Regions from separate parts of the Homo sapiens genome. Here all the other regions are linked to region 2. The links are contacts of gene promoters, found by promoter capture Hi-C in human tissues and cell types (Jung and others, 2019). All regions are on one chromosome and are shown on one strand. The core of a region is centred on a gene start or on the middle of the fragment in contact, and the rest is flanking DNA. Distances in the headings are between cores, read along the strand shown. Region 1 overlaps ZNF589 (zinc finger protein 589). Region 2 holds the start of TREX1 (three prime repair exonuclease 1). Region 3 overlaps ZNF589 (zinc finger protein 589).

Region 1 (4,419 bases), core at 459-2,958, 190 kb after region 2:
TTCCTTCTGGCTCAACCCCTCGTATTAGGGGTCTCTTGCCTGTCCTTCACTGGAAGCTTTGCTAAGGCACAATTCGCCTATCCTTTAGCTCCACCTGCTGGAGATTCCTTGCACCCTTCTTTCACTGCAACCTTCACGCTCTGGCCGCTTCCCTTGAGGGAATGTTCCAGGTCACTTTTAGCATTCATGGGGGGTCAGTATAAACCCCTGACGGGACCCCCAAAGGGCCGCCCTAAGCCATATGAGATGACCACGGAACTGCAGATTGGTCTCACTCCGCACAGCAGTAGTGCTTGTTACCATTCATGCACTTTCAACCTCCAGAATGCCCCGACCCCCGCAAAACCACTAAAGAAGTAATTTGTTGCCCCTGCGACGTTTTCTACCTTGGTCTGTGCAGTTTACCTGGTCGCCGCAGTATTGCAAGTCTCTCTTCCCCGCGTTGCTGAGAGTCCAGGTTTATTCGTCACAACAGGTGGGTCTCGATCTCCCATCCCTGAGGGCCACCGCAACAGGGCAGTGGGAAGTGTCTCCCCTGGGTAGGGTGACTGAAGACCCCTTCCCGAAGGAGAATGGGAATCCCAGACGAGCCCCCAGAATTGTTGGATATAAAATGCTCTAGGATGAAATGCTCGGTGCCATGAAGTAAAACCAGCACTCAGGCAAAAGTTTAATTTCTCTCAGCAAGGTAATTTACTTCTGCGGAACGGTGCCACTTGTGTCAATCAAGATCACAAGAGCACAGAGAACAAAGGAGACCAGGGGATTTTTATCCTTAACACAGTCCCTATCTCTGTGTCACTCCCCCCATGGGCTGGGGTCAGACTGCACAATCTGAGCTGACCCAATTGGCCACTTGTACATATTTTCCTAACTATAGAAGGGGAGGGGGACATGAGTTACAGAGGTGGAGTGTGAGGCGTGCAGTTTCGGGGGAACAATGGGTACAGGTAACCAAGGGAACAGATGTGAATTATTGATTAAAGCTGACGAGAATGGGGTAGGCTGTTTACAGTAACTAGGGGTAAGGAAGAACAAGAAAGTTGAATTTGAGAACAAGGATAAGGAAGTTAGCAGGCTAAACCCTTTGAAGAGAGACTCAGATTTACTGCAGCTTACAATCTCTTCCTATGACTGCCTGGACCTGACAGTCCTCTTGCCGGACCAGATCTGTGTGGTATCTCGACAGTGCCTACATGGATTTTAATAGAAAATGAACACTTTTTTCTCCCTCTCATGTTTAAAGTAGATGTATGATCACTAATTTTTCCACTTTCATTTTTCTATGGGAGGAGTAACTTCGAGGTCTTGTGGAATGATGGTGTCCCACCCTTCCCCTGCCCAGCAACCCCTAAACACACACACATACACACACTTTCTATGGCTTTTAGCTCAGGCCATGGGAAAGGGGCAGCAATAGTGAGAGGTGACAACGTGTTAGCAGCCCTCGCTCACTCTCAGCGCCTCCCCGGCCTCAGCGTCCGCTCTGGCCACGCTTGAGGAGCCCTTTAGCCAGCCGCTGCACTGTGGGAGCCCCTCTCTGGGTTGGTCGAGGCCGGAGCCAGCTCCCTTGGCTGGCAGAGAGGTGTGGAGGGAGAGGCGCAGGTGGGAACCAGGGCTGCGCATGGGGCTCGCAGGCCAGCATGAGTTCCGGGTGGGCGCAGGCTCGGGGGCCCCCACACTCGGAGCGGCCGGCCGGCACCACAGGCCCCAGGCATTAAGGGGCTTAGCACCCGGGCCAGCAGCTGCAGAGGGTGCACCGGGTCCCCCAGCACTGACAGCCTGCCCACGCCGCACTTGAATTCTCACCGGGCCTCAGCCGCCTCCCCATGAGGCAGGGCTTGGGACCTGCGGCCTGCCATGCCCAAGCCACCCCCGACCGCCATGGGCTCGCATGCAGCCCGAGACTCCCCGACAGGCGCTGCCCGTCCCATCGACCGCCCAAGGGCTGAGGTGTGCAGGTGTGAGGCACAGGACTAGCAGGCAGCTCCACCCACAGCCCCAGTGCGGGATCCACTAGGGGAAGTCAGCTGGGCTCCTGAGTTGGGTGGGGTCTTGGAGAACTTTTGTCTAGCTGGAGGATTGTATATGCACCAAGCAGCACTCTCTGTCTAGCTCGGGGTTTGTGGATGCACCAATCAGCACTCTGTATCTAACTAACCTGGTGGGGACTTGGAAAACTTTTATGTCTAGCTAGAGGATTGTAAATGCACCAATCAGCACTCTGTGTCTAGCTCAAGGTTTGTAAACGCACCAATCAGTGCTCTGTGTCTAGCTAATCTAGCGGGGACTTGGAGAACTTGTGTCTAGCTAAAGGATTGTAAACGCACCAATCAGCACTGTGTCTAGCTAAAGGTTTGTAAACGCGTGTCTAGCTAATCTAGTGGGGACTTGGAAAATTTTTGTCTAGCTAGAGGCTTGTAAATGCACCAATCAGCACTCTGTGTCTAGCTCAGGGATTGTAAATGCACCAATCAGCACCCTGTCAAAACGGACCAATATGCTCTCTGTAAAATGGACCAATCAGCAGGATGTGGGTGGGGCCGGATAAGGGGATAAAAGCAGGCTACCCGAGCCAGCAGCGGCAAGCCACTCAGGTCCCCTTCCATGCTGTGGAAGCTTTGTTTTTTCACTCTTCACAATAAATCTTCCTGCTGGTCACTCTTTGGGTCCGCGCCGCCTTTAAGAGCTGTAACACTAACCGCAAAGGTCCGCAGCTTCACTCCTGAAACCAGCAAGACCACGAACCCACCGGAAGGAACTAACAACTCCAGATGCGCTGCCTTTAAGAGCCGTAACACTGCTAAGGTCTGCAGCTTCACTCCTAAGCGAGACCACAAACCCACCAGAAGTTAGAAACTCTGGACACGTCCGAACATCAGAAGGAACAAACTCCAGACACACCATGTTTAAGAATTGTAACACTCACCGTGAGGGTCCACGGCTTCATTCTTGAAGTCAGCAAGACCAAGAACCCACCAATTCCAGACACATTAGGGTGGTAGGCCAGGCATGGGGGAGATCCTACATTCCAGGTACCCCTAGCCCTTCCCCTAAGCAGGCTAACCTTGGGGATTCCCTGGAGATCAACCACTTCCAGTGAGAGGGAGTGGACAAAAGCCTCTGGACCAGCCATTCCTTCTCTCTCTCCAAGTCCTTTTTCCTCTCTAGCATCAAAACCAAGCCTAAGTATTTTGAGGTTACATGAACATCTCTCCCCTTCTTTTCTGTGGCAGAGTCCCTTAGCAAATAGAGGCACTGGGGCCTGAGTGGATAGCTCTCCAAGGTACACTCATTGACACAGGGTATCAGGTAGGGCTAGCCCCAGCCCAAGGGAGTAAGGCAAACTGTCAGAACCTGGGCCATATGGGCCCTGGAGTGTGAGGAGAGACAAATGGCTAAAGGCCCTGGCACCATTCCTGGATGTAATTTAGCCACCCGAGCATGGCTAAAACACTGGGTACTGAGATTGGAGGATTTAAGAGGAGCTGTGTTTAAAATACCCTTAAACCTGGTATTGGAAGGCTGATGATGCAGCATTGCTAGATCCCTGTCATTGAAGGCCAAGGTGGCGTGGCTATGTTTAAGTCCTGAGTCTGAAGAACTTTTAGAGTGTGGTTAAAGAATCTTGGATTTGGGACTGGAGGGTTAGGAAGGGGACCTGGTAAAGGTGTCCCTCAGATTGTAGGGCTGGAGACTGAACTCTGAGTAAAATCTAAAGGTGGGGTAGGAGAGGAAACAGCAAAGGCTAGAGATGTAGAAAAAAATAAAGCAGGAGAGTGTCATGGAAGCTAATGGAAGAACACAGTTGCAGAAGGAAGTAGTCAGATGCAAAGACCATTCCTCCAAGGGGACCGTCACTTGACACCTCTGCTCTCAGAAGTTAGATCTCTGTCATCTTCACATCTAAAGGAATGTAAGGGGTCAAAAGACTGTCCCCAAAGCTCTTAGAACAAGAGTGGGGTGGGCGTACAGTGGATAGATTTGACTCCAAGTATCTCTTAAGGGGCCACTTCCAGCCAACACCTTACTCTCACTCCATGAAGGTTTCTCCCGAGTGTGTCCTCTGACACGTGACAAGTAATGATGTCCACGTACAGCTCTGTCCACATTACCTTACAAACAAGGCTTCTCCCTAAGCATTTCCGCTGGTGTGGCTGATGGCTGACTTGTTGCTAAAATCACATCCTCACTCCTTGCACCTCTAAAGCTTTTCCCCGAGTGTATCTTCTGGTGTATGATGAGCTGTGACTTTCTCCTAAAGCTTTGCCCACACTCCACGCATGCATAAGGCTTCTCCCCCGAGTGTATCCTCTGATGTAAGCTGAGAGTGGACTTGTGGCTAAAGTTTCGCCCACACTCGATGCATGCGTAAGGTTTCTCTCCTGTGTGTGTCCTCCAGTGTCTGTTGAGGAGTAT
Region 2 (2,715 bases), core at 1-2,500:
GGAGGAAGATCCTTGGTACCCCTGCTCTCTCCAAGGCTGGGACTAGTGTTCCTGGTTGTGGCCAGGTGTGCAGTGGTTGTGACAGCAGATGGTCTTGGCTTGGTCCTAGCAGAGGCTGTGACCCCATACATGGGCCTGATGGTGCCGAAAGGCCTGGCGTGAGCATCCACCCACCGCAGCAGGGCCTGTGGTCTCCACTGACAGATGCTGAGCAGGGCCAGGACATCACCCTCAGCCGTGTGCGAGTCTGGAGGGGACTGCCCATACAGGCGAGTGTAGATGCTGCCTAGGCTATAGCTCTTCCTTGGGCCGTGTTCTGAGGGGCTGCTTGCTCGCTCCAGGGCCTTCAGCGCAGTGATGCTATCCACACAGAAGGCACCATCCAGAGCACTGGTGAGGCCCAGCATAGCCAGCTCTGCTTGGAGCAGGGGGAAGTCGTAGCGGTCACCATTGTGTGCCACCAGGCACCAGGGCTGTGGCTGGCGCCGCAGGAAGGCTAGGAGCAGGTTGGCCAGGTTGTCATCAAAACATTGACGCCCATGCGCTGCCAGCACAGCTGTGCTCAGACCTGTGATCTCGCTGGCTGCAGGGCTGCAGGCCTTCCCCGGAGCCACACACAGGGAGAGCTTGTCTACCACACGCGGTGGTGGAGGAACTGTGGGAGGTGGCCCCTGAGAGGTGGGGGGGCTCTCCAGGGCACATCTGTGGACAGCCAGCAGGCACAGCTCCGTGACCTTGGGCTGGGAGAAGGGCAAGCCAGTGGCCTCCATGTCGAAAAAGATGAGGGTCTGCATGGGCCCCGGGGGCAGGGCCTGCGAGCCCATGGTTGGGTACGTACCTGCTGCTGAGCCTGGAGAGGAGCATGGGGTGGGTGTGTGAGTGCCCAGTGTTAAGATCCGAAGGGGAGGGAGTGGGGTAGGGGGTGGGCAGAAGCACATCTCAGGCCTTCCCTGCACAATCCTGCCCTGTCTGCGAGCTCCAGGGCCCATTTTCAGGCAGGAAGTTGGAGAGGGTGAGGTGGTTTCCTTAGTGGGACCAGCACATTCGACTGTCTGAGAGGGTCTCCCTCTTCACATGACTCGGCCCCTCCCCTAGTGCCCCCTTAGTCTGGGGTGGGGGAACCCATGGCCCTCCTGCCCTGCGCCATCCCATTGTGGGGGCCACACTCACCGTAGCAGGCAGGCAGGCAGGCAGTAGTGACTCGGCTGCACACTCTCCCGCGGCTCTCGCTGGCAGCAGTGGCGGGAAGTGAAACTTGGCGTGGGCCCGCCTACAGGCCCACGTGAGCCAGGCCCGCCCTGCTCGTCAGCCTGCCTGGTCTGTCCCTCTCACCACCATCCGTTCCCCCCCACACCCACTCCCCTGCTCCCGGGGGACCCCAGAGGCCTTCCAAGATCCACAGCTGTGGCCTGCTGGTGGCACAATGCACCGGGGCCATCATACCAGTGACAGGCAGCTGGAAGGACCAGGGCAGTGGTGCCAGACCAGCTCCCGGTCTTACACACTGCTGGGAGCCCCTGCTGCGGCCCTTTCATGCCCACCTGTGGGTCCCAGTTTCCCAGGCTTTCCTGGTTTAGGCCTGGGCCAAGAGCCACCTCCTTCCCTGCCACACAATGGTTTCTTCCCATGGCCCCAGCCCAAAGCAATGACTCAGGACAATTCCACAGGCAGGGCAGGGCTCCTTCCTCAAGGCAGATCAGTTACCATGGGGACGGGCTCAGCAACAGCCAGGGACAGGAAGAAGGATCCCAGCCACTCAGGGTCCGGGTCCTGCTCCACCCCTCCCACTCCGCCAAACAGATCAGACTCAGGAAACAAGGCCAGCCAGTTCTCTGGGCAGTTCCTGCTGGTCACTGCTTTAATCAGTTGATGTGGTAAGGAAAGGAGTGGTGCTGGTGCCACCATGTGGCTGGACACTCAGGGCCTCAGCCACACTCCACCTCGGGGTCTTCCACATCGGTTTCCGCGGCACAGAGGTCATCCAGGGCTGCCTCTGAGACAAAAAGGAGAGGTTCCTGGTGAGGGCCCAAAGGTGCCAGGGCCTAGGGCAGGTCCCACCTCTCCTCCCCCAACGTCCGCAGGAACTAACCAGTCCCTTCCACACCCAGGCCCTGCTCCCTCAGCTACTGCAAACAAAGTGATACAAAGGCAATTCAGACACGGCTATTTCTGGAAAAACCGTGGCTCTGCCAGGCACACTCAACAGATAGATGCAAAAGGCATCCCAATATGCTTGGAGAAGAACTGAGGCAGGAAGATAAAAGAAAATGGCCCCAGTGCTGGAACAGGCTGCAGTGGGCGGGGGCCTGCTGAGGGGACACCCAGGAATCTGACTTGTTGGGGAACCTCTGGAAGAAGCCATGGGGGCTGGGCAGGATGGCCTCTGGCAGGCTTACCTTCACAGTCCGTCACATCAGGAAGCCCTCGGATGAGCATGCTGACCCCCGGCATCACCTGGTCAAACTGATGCAGGACCTCCACGCAGTGCATCATGAAGAGCTTGTCCTTCTGCGATAGGCCGTGCAGCAGCAGCACCGTGTCCCGCAGACAGCGCACTGTCCGCCTCTGCTGGTCGGTCCTTGGGGGTCCCCCTGCCCTCCGCACTGTCAGCCACTGTCTGTGCAACATCACCGTGAGCGCTCTGACCACCTGAGAGAGGGGGGGTGCAGACTGAGGCCTGGTGCCACCATGGCCTGCACCCTAACAATCCGCTCA
Region 3 (4,328 bases), core at 821-3,320, 220 kb after region 2:
AACGATATTGAATTCTACTTAATAATATGCATGCTGAAGTATTCAGAGGTGAAATGTATTGAGATCTGCAACTTACTCTGAAGCGCATGAAAACATAAGATGGGCCGGGCGCAGTGGCTCATGCCTATAATCCCAGCACTGTGGGAGGCCGAGGCAGGCAGATCACCTGAGGTCAGGAGTTCGAGACCAGCCTGGCTAACATGGTGAAACCCTGTTTCTACTAAAAATACAAAAATTAGCTGTGTGTGGTGGTGCGTGCCTGTAATCCCAGCTACTCAGGAGGCTGAGGCAGGAGAATCGCTTGAATCCAGGAGGCGGAGGTTGCAGTGAGCCGAGATCATGCCATTGCACTCCAGCCTGGGCGACAAGAGCGAAACTCTGTCTCAAAAAAAAAAAAGAAAAAAAAAGGTTGGGGCAGAGAAGGGAATACGGGAAAATAAAGGATAAAGGCAGCTGCTTCCCTGATAATGAAGTAATTTGCTCCCAAGTCACCCTCATCTGTATCAATCAAGCTTGGCCCCTATGGCCTGGAAGCTGCCCTAGAGACTGGTACAAAACCTCCTGAGAAGAATGGTGTGCCTACTATGTCTCCTATACTCTATCCCTTCATGAAGCTACGCGAATTTAATGCAGGGTTAAAGTACATTGCATACCATGAATTTGATTATCAATCCAAACCTAAGACCATTCTTTGTGGCTGTGCATTGTTTTAACAGCTACAGGCTAACACTTAGTCTTTCCCTGTACTATTTTACAGTTTTAGCTGTCTTCATCATAATTATTACCAGTGTCATTATTTCCTGTCTCTATGCATCATTTCCTAAAGAATCTTGGATCTTTGAGAATAAGGACAGTGAATTTAACAACTCTATTTGGCTAGCTCCCAGAATCTCACACAGTCCTGTGCCCAGAAACCAATAAATTAAATTTCTGGTATAGCAAAGATCACAGGGGTTGGGGGAGAGGGATATGCAACATCAGAACAAGGGGGTGAACTCTATGAGGCTCTTCATCCAAAACATAACCCCATTTCGTAGAGTTGGAAAGTGTGTTCTTTTATCATTGGGTAGTTTTCTAGGAGAAAAAAACAGTCAAGAAGGCATCACAGAAAATTCATGGTTTGAGATCAGAGAAATCTGGATTTAATTCCTGACTCTACCATTTGGCCATCCACGTGTCCCTGTGCATAAATCACGTAATCCCTCTAAGCCAGATGATCTCATCTCGAAAATGGGGATGTCACCACCCATCTCCTACAGCTGTTAATGATTTAAACACAGGACTGAAATATTTATGGATTAAATGGTATGATGCCTTGGATTTTCTTTAATCCAGTGGGAATGGAGATGAAATAAAATTGGCCATGAGTTGATAACTGCTGAAGTGGGATGATGGATACAGAAGAGTTAACTCTTTTTCTACTTTTGCATCTTTGTTTTCTAAAACAAAATGTGAAAAAGAGGTCCAATGTACAAGATCAGACTATTAGATACTATTAAAGTGTTATAACTATTTGTGCAAATGTTGATGTAGGGAACTTTAATAGTGCATTTTAGGATCTTAATAACCCAAGGTTTTTATAAAAAGTTACCATTATATTTTAGAATACTCTGAATTAAAATTAAACTTGGTCATGTTTTTGTATAAGCTCAAAAAATAGAAAGACTAAGTGCAAAAACCATTATAATAAGCCTAGAACAATGGCTAACACAAGGCATAAACCACTTAAATGTTAATCACTTCCTCCCTTCCCAAGAAAGACAGATGAGCCCATTCTCTGAGAAATGAGCCAGCATTTCAGAAAAGAGAAGGGCGGGCCCAACTCACCAGATATCTAGGCTTCTCTTCCCAGGGCCAGGCAGAATCCTTGGCAGGCAGAGCTGGGGAAAGAAAGAAGCAACCTTGAGAAGCCAGCCCTACCAGGCCCATCATGAGGATCCCCAAGAGCCCTCTGAGCCTTGGCTGTGGCCACCTGAGCCTTCTCAGCTGACCCAGACCCTGAGCTCCTCTCACCTCCTGCCTTATGCTTGAGTCAACTTCTCTATGCTCTGCACCACTTCCCTATTACATTTTTACAGAAACACTGATCTTAATTAAATGTAGTAAGGTAAACTCTAAGCACTCATCATCTTTCTACCCTAAAAATTAGCAAAACTGTTGAGACAAGGCATCATTTCCCCCCATGTGTTATGTGACTCTAGTTACATGTTTTTTTTTAATTTATGAAAATGGACCGAGCACAGTGGCACACGCCTATAATACCAGAACTTTGGGAGGCCGAGGCAGGCAGATGACTTGAGGTCAGGAGTTTGAGGCCAGTCTGACCAACATGACAAAGAAACCCCAACTCCACTAAAAATAAAAAAATTAGCCAGGCATGGTAGTGCACGCCTATAATCCCAGCTACTCAGGAGGCTGTGGCAGGAGAATCGCTTGAACCCAGGGGGCGAAGGTTGCAGTGAGCAGAGATCACGCCACTGCACTCCAGCTTGGGCAACAGCAAAACTCCATCTCGAAAATAGTTTATGAAAATGTTAGGCCAGGCGCGGTGGCTCACGCCTGTAATCCTAGCACTTTGGGAGGCCGAGGCAGGCCGATCACAAGGTCAGGAGATCGAGACCATCCTGACTAACACAGTGAAACCCCATCTCTACTGAAAATACAAAAAATTAGCTGGGTGTGGTGGCGGGCACCTGTAGTCCCAGCTACTCAGGAGGCTGAGGCAGGAGAATGGCATGAACCCGGGAGGCAGAGCTTGCAGTGTGCCGAGATCGCACCACTGCACTCCGGCCTGGGCGACAGAGCGAGACTCCGTCTCAAGAAAAAAAAAAGAAAATGTTAAACACAGAAACAGAAGTCTGTGATTTAATGAAAATATTTTTTAAAAATGTGTCAGGCCGGTTTCAGTGGCTCACGCCTGTAATCCTAACACTTTGGGAGGCTGAGGTGGGAGGATCACTTGAATCCACGGCTTCAAGACCAGCCTGGGTGACAATGAGACCCACATCTCTAATAATAAAAATAATAATTATTATATTGTTTTAAAAACTTGTCAATGTTATTCCTTATTTTACAAAAGAGCATGAGTAAAAGGAGAAAAAAGTATTAAAGACCATTACAACAGCATTTCTAAAGCGCAGCTTGTCAGACTCTCATTCCTCTTCAAATTATTGTGGAACTGATTGATTGATTGATTGATTGAGATAGGGTCTCACTATTGCCCAGGCTGGAATGCAGTGGCACAATCTCTGCTCATTACAACCTCCACCTCCTGGGCTCAAGTGATCCTCCCACCTCAACTTCCCTGGGATTACAGGCATGCACCACCATGCCCAGCTAATTTTTGTATTTTTTGTAGAGATGGGGGTTTCACCATGCTGGCTAGGCTGGTCTCGAACTCCCGACCTTAAGTGATCTGCCCACATTGGCCTCTCAAAGTGCTGGGATTATAGGCATGACCCACGACGCCTGGCCTATTGTGGAATTTTAAAAGGTAAGATTTTAACATCTCTGGAGGGAAGCTCAAGCTTTCCCTGCCATATCTGTTTTTTTTTTTTTGAGACAGAGTCTCACTCTGTCACCCAGGCTGAAGGTCAATGGCACGATCTCAGCTCACTGCAACCTCCGCCTCCTGGGTTCAAGCAATTCTCCTGCATCAGCCTCCCAAGTAGCTGGGATTACAGGCACCTGCCACCATGCCTGGCTAATTTTCGTATTTTTGGTAGAGACAGGGTTTCACCATGTTGGCCAGGCTGGTCTCGAACTCCTGACCTCAGGTGATCTGCCTGCCTCGGCCTCCCAAATGCTGGGATTACAGGCGTGAGCCACCGCGCCCAGCCTTCTCTTCCATATCTTTGCTGAGGGGAAAGAAGAATGTTTTTCTGATCCTTGGGTGTCACTGATTCTGAAAGTTCAGAAAAGGAACTGGGATGTCATATTTCTAACCTGTGACCTGTGCCTTTGTAGAAGGGACAGAGTCTGGGGAAGGGAGTGCCTCTCAGGGGGACGAGGGTCTTAGCAGCAGTCTGAAGCTTCCTCCTTGACACCCTTTATTCCAGGCATATGTGTTTATAAGATACATAGAAGCTGGCCAGGCTCTGCACGGTGCCTCATGCCTGTAATCCCAGCACGTTAGGTGGCCGAGGTGGGCTGATTGCTTGAGCCCAGAAGTTCAAGATCAACCTGGGCAATGGTGAACCCCATCTCTACAAAAAATAAAAAAATTAGCCGGGCGTGGTGGTGTACACCTGTAGCCCCAGCTACTTGGGAGGCTGAAGTGGCAGGATCATTTGAGCCCCAGAGGCAAAGGTTGCAATGAAGTGAGAGAT

Evidence for each region. The method cuts DNA at HindIII sites, captures the fragments that hold promoters and counts their contacts. A contact is called where the count stands out against the background at its distance.
Region 1: a fragment that was not itself captured here is called in contact with the fragment with the promoter of TREX1 in region 2 in 5 of the 25 tissues and cell types used here (IMR-90 fibroblasts, hippocampus, lymphoblastoid cells and 2 more).
Region 3: a contact is called between a fragment that was not itself captured here and the fragment with the promoter of TREX1 in region 2, in 1 of the 25 tissues and cell types used here (pancreas).

The regions. Positions count from the first base shown.
Region 1 is chr3:48,269,480-48,273,898 of GRCh38, reverse strand. It overlaps ZNF589 (zinc finger protein 589), which reads right to left. Exons shown (of 4, transcript NM_016089.3): 4 at 2,909-4,419. Among named protein-coding and RNA genes, the nearest start is that of NME6, 30 kb to the left of the region's middle. The HindIII fragment of the contact is 5,059 bases long and covers 1-4,237 here.
Region 2 is chr3:48,464,765-48,467,479 of GRCh38, reverse strand. It overlaps TREX1 (three prime repair exonuclease 1), which reads right to left and starts at 1,250. Exons shown (of 2, transcript NM_033629.6): 1 at 1,171-1,250; 2 at 1-850. The coding sequence starts at 824. ATRIP (ATR interacting protein) reads right to left here. Exons shown (of 13, transcript NM_130384.3): 12 at 2,397-2,649; 13 at 1-1,993. The coding sequence ends at 1,926. ATRIP-TREX1 (ATRIP-TREX1 readthrough) reads right to left here. Exons shown (of 15, transcript NR_153405.1): 13 at 2,397-2,649; 14 at 1,171-1,993; 15 at 1-850. RefSeq lists enhancers at 1-440, 655-854, 441-1,322, 1,935-2,024. The HindIII fragment of the contact is 7,289 bases long and covers 1-2,715 here.
Region 3 is chr3:48,245,177-48,249,504 of GRCh38, reverse strand. ZNF589 (zinc finger protein 589) reads right to left here. Exons shown (of 4, transcript NM_016089.3): 2 at 1,828-1,880. Among named protein-coding and RNA genes, the nearest start is that of ZNF589, 6.2 kb to the right of the region's middle. The HindIII fragment of the contact is 4,289 bases long and covers 1-4,214 here.